Regions from separate parts of the Homo sapiens genome. Here region 2 is linked to region 1. The links are contacts of gene promoters, found by promoter capture Hi-C in blood cells and fetal thymus (Javierre and others, 2016). All regions are on one chromosome and are shown on one strand. Each heading gives the region's core, a stretch centred on a gene start or on the middle of the fragment in contact. The rest is flanking DNA. Distances are from core to core; before and after follow the strand shown. Region 1 overlaps LOC124905149 (a long non-coding RNA gene). Region 2 holds the start of ALG12 (ALG12 alpha-1,6-mannosyltransferase).

Region 1 (3,749 bases), core at 123-2,622:
ATTTTTAGTAGAGATGGGGTTTCACCATGTTGGCCAGGCTGGTCTCGAACTCCTGACCTCGTGATCCTCCCGCCTTGGCCTCCCAGAGTGCTGGGATTACAGGTGTGAGCCACCACGCCCAGCTAATTTTCTTTTTTTTTCTTTTTTTTTTTTGTATTTTTAGTAGACATGGGGTTTCACCGTGTTGGCCAGGCTGGTCTCGAACTCCTGACCTTGTGATCCGGCTGCCTCGGCCTCCCAAAGTGCTGGGATTACCAGCGTGAGCCACGCACCCAGCCAACTTTTGACTTTGTGCGGAACTCATTTGTTGTTGACCCTTTCCCCCTCCACTGGCAGCTTTTGATTTCCTTTCTTTGAGCTCTTTGGGGTGGCTCTGGATGTCATCAGGACTGCTTTGCGCCTCTTTGGAGATGGCTTATGTGTCCTTGGTTAAGTCCATAGCTTTAGTTAAGGCTTATTGGTTTTGGTGAGTCACTTGGGAGGTACCTTTGGTTTTAAAAAAAAAGGTCTCAAAGCCATGGCTATCAGCTGTTGGTCTCAGCTAAAATCTGATAATAAGATATTTGAAAGGATTTTAAAAAAGAGCTCTGTGGTCAGAAGTTGGCTTAATTAAAAACAGGTGAGCTGATCTTCAAGCCATGTATCTACAGCCTTTTCTGCTTTTGGACCCTGTTTCTGGGAATTTTTTTTTCAGGTGACTGAAACCCCTTTAAATTGTGTGTTTGGTCCTTCTGTTTGGTTCCTTTGTTGGTATAATTTTGATGAGAAAAATGTAAAATTGTATTGGCCTTTTAGAACCTTAACATTTTTCCAAATTGGCTCCTCTAAGGATTGCAGTCCCATTTACTTCTACCCCTCCGTGCTCCTCCATCCCCTTTGCCATCTTTGGTACCTAATGAAGGGATCTACAAGGGACTTCTGATGACTTAGAGACCCCTTGGGGAACGCAAAGAAAGGTGCCACGCGCCCCGCTTTTGTCTTCCTTATGGGGCCTGAGGAGTCGTGGGTAGCTTCCTCTCGGGTCTAAAGCTTGGCTGTCTTTGGCACTGTGTCACTGGATCTCTTTGGCTTTGGGGGTACCAGGGATTACGTTGCACTGTGAGACAGTGCATGACCTGAGTGTGTGTGATGGCCGGCAGGTCACTGGCGAGGGCTGCCTCACAGTTTTGGAGGTGGCTGAAAGCAGTTGTAGTGAATGGTTGTTCCTGCAGTGGCTGCTTGTTTCTCTGCATGTTTAGATGAGAAAGGCACAATCTGAACACTTGGAGACTATGGAAGCACTTGGCGTCAAAGGCTGAGACTCCGTGGGCTGATTGCTGTGGGTCTCCCACCAGCCTCAGGGGAATGTCTTCATAGTGAGGTACACTGTGGAAACACTGTATGGCTTTGTCTCATATATATCTCTTTTTAGAGGGAACTCAGCATTCAGTGTAAATGTGGGATCCTTGATTTTAAAAGATCTAGATGCTCTGCCTTCCAGCTGCACCTGTTTTTCACATATTTAAATATTAGGTCCTCCAAACTGCAAATGCTTTTTTGGCCATGTTCATTAATGAGCTCTGTCCTGAGCCCAGTGGTCTAGTTCAAAAATGGAGAATAAATTAATAGCCACATATTTAAATAACATTGTTGTCCTTATAAAATCCTGTGGTGAATTTCTATGACTTTTTGTTACCTCAGCATCCATTTAAAATCTTCCTTTAACATACTAAATCAAAGCTTAAACTTTCTCCCTGTGGAATTGCTTGAACCAAGGAGGCAGAGGTTGCAGTGAGTCAAGATCGTGCCGTTGCACTCCAACCTGGGCGACAGAGCAAGACTCCGTCTTGAAAAAATTCAGTAAATAAAAATAATTTTTTTTTCTCTGTGCTTCAAGATGTAAATTTGTTGCCTTGTTTTCTCTAAAACTTGGTAAGGGCTTTGGCCGTGTGAGACAGATAAATTTTACCTTGTTCCATTTACAGAGGCACAATTTTAAGTATCCTTTTAAACTAGTGATTTTTACCCGATTCGTGGCTAAAATCTTAAAACTAAAGCTATAAAATCTTGATTTGTGTCTGTATTTTTATGTGTACATGCCTGTTTGTATATTATGTACATAGTAGCAAATTGACGTATAAATAAATAAGTGCTCATGAATGATGTAACTAAACCCAGATGCTTTTCTAGTTCATGTGACTAGTAATCTTTGGCAAATAAACTTAGTTTTAAAATTGTTGCTGCTGGGTGCAGTGGCTCACACCTGTAATCCCAGCACTTTGGGAGGCTGAGGCGGGCAAATCACGAGGTCAAGAGATCGAGACCATCCTGGCCAACATGGTGAAACCCCGTCTCTACTAAAAATACAAAAATTAGCCAGGCGTGGTGGCATGCGCCTGTAGTCCTAGCTACTCAGGAGGCTGAGGCAGGAGAATCACTTGAACCTGGGAGGTAGAGGTTGCAGTGAGCCGAGACTGCACTACTGCACTCTAGCCTGGGTGACAGAGTGAGACTCCATCTCAAAAAAAAAAATGATGCTAAAATTAGAATATCTTCAAAGTCGTCAGTCTTAAATATAATTGAGACATCTTTGCTTGGGCCCATTGGTCGGACAGGTTCAGACAGTCTCTGTTAGATGCTTTAAGGTCATAAAATTTGCTTCTGTCATATTTCTGATACTTGCTTAATTTGTCTGTGAACTTAGGTCTTTGGCTTTGAGCCTCTACATTCTGGGGTCAAGACAAGTGGACATGATGTGGCCTGGAGACATCTGTGTGTCCGCAGTACCTAAGCCCCATCCTCCCTGGCCCAGCTGTACCCCCCGGTCATGCTGTTTGTCTGCAGTGCCCGAGCCCCGTCCTCCCTAGCCCAGCTGTGCCCCCCGGCCATACTGTGTGTCTGCAGTGCCTGAGCCCCGTCCTCCCTAGCCCAGCTGTGCGCCCCAGCCATGCTGTGTGTCTGCAGTGCCCGAGCATTGTCCTCTCTTGCCCAGCTGTGCCCCCCGGTCATGCTGTGTGTCTGCAGTGCCCGAGCATTGTCCTCCCTGGCCCAGCTGTGCCCCCCGGTCATGCTGGGAGGGGTTGAGTCCTCCAGGCATTGTCTTTGTAGTAGCCCATTCTCACACTGCTAATAAAGACATACCTGAGACTGGGTGATTTGTAAAGGAAAGAGGTTTAATTGACTCACAGTTCAGCGTGGCTGGGAAGCCTCAGGAAACTTACAATCATGGCGGAAGAGGAAGCAAACACGTTCTTCACATGAGGTCAGGAAGGAGGTGTGCAGAGCGAAGAGTGGGGAAGCACCTCATGAAACCATGAGACCTCGTGAGAACTCACTAGCACAAAAACAGCGTGGGGGAACCGCCCCCTTCATCTAATCACCTCCCACTGGGTCCCTCCCACAACACCTGTGGATTTTGGGAACTACAGTTCAAGATGAGATTTGGGTGGGGACACAGCCAAACCATATCAGTCTTTAAAGCTCTGTCCTTTGTCCTGGGCTTTGCATCTTTAATAACAATTAAAATTGCTTACTTCCCATGTTTTTCACTGAAAATTAGGCTTCCTAAGAGTTAACATTGTAATTAATATATGTATTTAAAACTACTAGATATAAGAGAAACACTTCTGTATGCAAAGTTTATAAGAAAGTAGGATGTGTTTTTGGTAAGGAAGGTTATAAAGAAGGCATGAGAATGAGGTTTTTGTTAAAGGAAAAGTAATTTTGTCTAGTTTTGATGTTTTTAAAGGTTGTTTTAAATTAAAGGAATA
Region 2 (3,810 bases), core at 750-3,249, 720 kb before region 1:
GGCATGGTGGTGTGCGCCTGTAATCCCAACTACTTGGAAGGCAGAGGAGGAGAATTGCTTGAACTCGGGAGGCAGAGGTTGCAGCAAGCCAAGATCGCACCACTGTACTCCAGCCTGGACAACAGAGCCAGACTCCGTCTCAAAAAAAAAGAAATAGGAAGCAAGCCGGATGTGTTGGCTCACGCCTGTAATTCCAGCTACTCAGGAGTTCAAGACCAACCTGGGCTACAGAGCCAGACCCCATCTCCACAAAAATAATCCCAGCTACTCAGGAAGCTGACATGGGGGGTACTGCTTGAGGCCCGGAGTTCAAGACCAACTTGGGCTACATCATGAGACCCCATTTCTACAAAAATAAAAAATAAAACGGAACGGGGAGCATCTACGTGCCAAGATGTGGGAGGTGCACACAGCAAGTGCTGCTTGGCAGTCCCCCACAACCCCACTCCACACCTCTCCACCCAGGGGAGTTCCCCAGCAAGGAAGAGTTCAGCTGTGGGGTGAAAACATTACGTGCTGACTCTGACACTCCTGGCGGGCCCCCAGCACCTCCTCGGACCCAACAAGGTGTGCCTTCTGCTGATGACCAGCACAGCTCACTTTCGAGGGCATGAGAAGACCAAGGGTGAGTCTGGATTCTCTGCCAGGAGCACGGGAAGACCAAGTCAACACCAGCAAGCACGAAAACCACGACGAACCCCCCACCAGGCGAGGGTGAACGGACACTGTCCTGCACTAGCCCACTCTGCTGGGCAGCTGGGCAGCAGCTGTGGCTAATCTAAGTGACGGGTGCTTCGAGAGCACCCACAGGTTAAAACGGGCCCAGGCCATGACACTTTAAAATGGTGGTTTACAGAACAATGGCATCTCAGATTAGGGAATGACCTGCAAAGACCCTCTTGTCCCCATCAATCCAGATTTTAAGGCCTCTACCGAAATTGATCAAATCAGGCTAAGCATGGTGGCTCACGCCTGTAACCCTAGCACTTTGGGAGGCTGAGGCAGGCAGATCGCTTGAGGTCAGGACTTCGAGACCAGCCTGGCCAACATGGTGAAACCCCGTCTCTACTAAAAATACAAAAATTAGCCGGACCTGGTGGTGGGTGCCTGTAATCCCAACTTAGGAGGCTGAGGCAGCAGAATCACAGGAACCTGGAAGGCGGAGCTTGCAGTGAGCTGAGATCGCGCCACTGCACTCCAGCCTGGGCGACAAAGTGAGACTCCGTCTCAAAAAAACAGAAAAGAAACTGGTCAAATCAGATGTTACTTTTTTTTTTTTTAAATGTGCAGTGTTATCTGCACTCCTTCCTTCCACAGGCAGGAGTTCTCTGAAATCCAGACGCTGCACGTTTTATTTCCCCTAATTTAAACCAGGGGTTCCTGAACATGAGCGAGTGTTCATCACCTCAAGCGCCTGTAGAAATGCAGATCCCCAGCCCCCAGAGACCCTAAGTGGACCCCAGATCCCCAGCCCCCAGGTGAAAAACCCATCCCCCAGGTGGGAGGTCCGGCCCCAGGTGAGGAGCCCGGCCCCAGGTGAGAGGTCCAGCCCCAGGTGAGAGGTCGGGCCCCCGGATGAGAGGTCCGGCCCCCGGGTGAGAGGTCTGGCCCCCAGGTGACAGGTCCAGCCCCAGGTGAGGAGCCCGGCCCCAAGTGAGGGGTGCAGCCCCAGGTAAGGAGCACGGGGCTGTGACGCGTGGACATGCGCGGTGAGGCCTCAGGAATCCAGCGCCAGCGCCAGCTCGGGTCGCGCCCTCGCCCGCCTCCTCCCTGGTCTCGCCGCGCGCCCGCCTGAAGGCCCCGGTCGCGGCAGCGCGCACTGACCTCCGCAGCTCCCGGCGGCGTCCTTCGAAGCGCGGCTGCCTGGGCCAGCCTCGGCAGGAAGCAGGACGGCGGAAACAGAACAGAGCCCGAATCTAAAGTCCTTGCCCAAATCTAAAGTGGCTACCGCAGCCCCGGCCGCTACGGCCGCAGAGACCCTCTGTGCCCTGAGTAAAGATGGCCGCCGCGGGCTGCGCGCGAGGGGCGGGGAGCGGGAGGCGGGGTCGGACCTGCACGCCCCGCCCCCGGACTCCTGGCGGCCGCTGATCCGGGGCCTTCCCATTGGTCACCTCTCGTGGCGAACTCGGATTGGGCCATATCAGGCCGGGGCGGGTCCCATCAACCAATAGCGGCGCGGGGCTGGCGGGTGGGGCGGGGCCTCGCCGGCGCCGTCAAGTAGCCTGGGGGACAGGCCGGCGCGGCTGGGAGCGGGTGGGCGGCCGGGAGGCCGGAGCAGCACGGCCGCAGGACCTGGAGCTCCGGCTGCGTCTTCCCGCAGCGCTACCCGCCATGCGCCTGCCGCGCCGGGCCGCGCTGGGGCTCCTGCCGCTTCTGCTGCTGCTGCCGCCCGCGCCGGAGGCCGCCAAGAAGCCGACGCCCTGCCACCGGTGCCGGGGGCTGGTGGACAAGTTTAACCAGGTGGGAAGGGGCCGGGCGGGGTCGTCAACCTTGGGCCCGGGGTCCCCCTCACCCTGCATCCGGGGTCGCCCCACCTTGGGCCCAGGGTCGCCCTCACCCTGGATCCGGGGTCCCCCTCACCCTGGATTCGGGATCCCCCTCACCGTCGATCCAGAGTCCCTCCACCGTGGTCCTGGAGTCCCCCTCACCCTTGACCCGGATCCACCCCCACCGTGGAACCAGGGTCGACGCCACCGTGGGCCTGGAGTCCCCTCACCCTCGACCTGGGCTCGCCCCCACCCTGGACCCGGGTCAGGTGGTACCAAGCACTATGGGCACTGTCTCCTCGCAGGGGATGGTGGACACCGCAAAGAAGAACTTTGGCGGCGGGAACACGGCTTGGGAGGAAAAGACGCTGTCCAAGTACGAGTCCAGGTGGGTGCCCTGGAGCACCCCTGTGGGTCTTGGCCTGGCGCTGTCCTGGGAAGTCGTGTCCTGCCTTTGGTGCCTGTGTTAATGACAGGGAGACAGAACAGCCCCCGAGGCACCAGTCACCCGTCCGAGTCACCTCGGCTTCTCCCTGAGGACTAATGGCTGGCCCCTCTCTGGCCTTCCAGCTTCTGCTCTGGTCCCTACCCCCTCAACAGACAGTGGCTTTTCAAAATGTAAACTGGAACACCAGCCCCACTTGTGGGAACCGCTCCTGGCTTCCCCTGACAGTGGGGTCCCCTTATTCTCTGTGCCCGGAGTCCTGGCTCCCCGGCCCCTGCACCCAGGTTGGCGTATTGGTTCGGATTTTTCTTCACTGCCTTGGAGGCGCTGACGGTGGGCCGGTGTGGGCCTGTGTTTCAGCGAGATTCGCCTGCTGGAGATCCTGGAGGGGCTGTGCGAGAGCAGCGACTTCGAATGCAATCAGATGCTAGAGGCGCAGGAGGAGCACCTGGAGGCCTGGTGGCTGCAGCTGTGAGTGCCTTAAAACCTCTTAGAAGATACTTTTTATTTTCCAACTTAGAATTTGAAATAACCTCAGACTTAGAAAGGTACAGGAACAGTAGGGAGCTCCCACCTGCCTCGCACCCACCTTACCCCTGCATTACCGTTTTTTATCACCAGAGTCAGCGATCAAAACCAGGAAATTAAGGAGAAGATTCTGTCCACACCTAGACTCTTGTTTCCTGGACCTTACAATACTCCAGAGCATATGTTACGTTCAGCTGCATGTTTGTTTTAAAGAACCGTGTCTGCTGGGATTCAGTGAATGTTTTCCTCCATCCTCAGGAAGAGCGAATATCCTGACTTATTCGAGTGGTTTTGTGTGAAGACACTGAAAGTGTGCTGCTCTCCAGGAACCTACGGTCCCGACTGTCTCGG

The links. Contacts are between HindIII fragments. The CHiCAGO score rates a contact against its expected background, and 5 or more counts as called.
Region 2: the fragment with the promoter of ALG12 here is called in contact with a fragment that was not itself captured in region 1 in 1 of 17 cell types (erythroblasts); the score reaches 5.1 in erythroblasts.

Annotation. Positions count from the first base shown.
Region 1 is chr22:50,632,860-50,636,608 of GRCh38, forward strand. It overlaps LOC124905149 (a long non-coding RNA gene), which reads left to right. Exons shown (of 2, transcript XR_007068161.1): 1 at 1-1,839; 2 at 2,684-3,147. Among named protein-coding and RNA genes, the nearest start is that of ARSA, 6.6 kb to the left of the region's middle. RefSeq lists enhancers at 2,403-2,919, 2,920-3,434. The HindIII fragment of the contact is 690 bases long and covers 1,028-1,717 here.
Region 2 is chr22:49,916,439-49,920,248 of GRCh38, forward strand. ALG12 (ALG12 alpha-1,6-mannosyltransferase) reads right to left here and starts at 2,000. Exons shown (of 10, transcript NM_024105.4): 1 at 1,825-2,000. It overlaps CRELD2 (CRELD disulfide isomerase 2), which reads left to right and starts at 2,196. Exons shown (of 10, transcript NM_024324.5): 1 at 2,196-2,460; 2 at 2,792-2,874; 3 at 3,292-3,402; 4 at 3,718-3,809. The coding sequence starts at 2,332. RefSeq lists silencers at 1,590-1,789, 1,900-2,399. The HindIII fragment of the contact is 6,188 bases long and covers 1-3,810 here.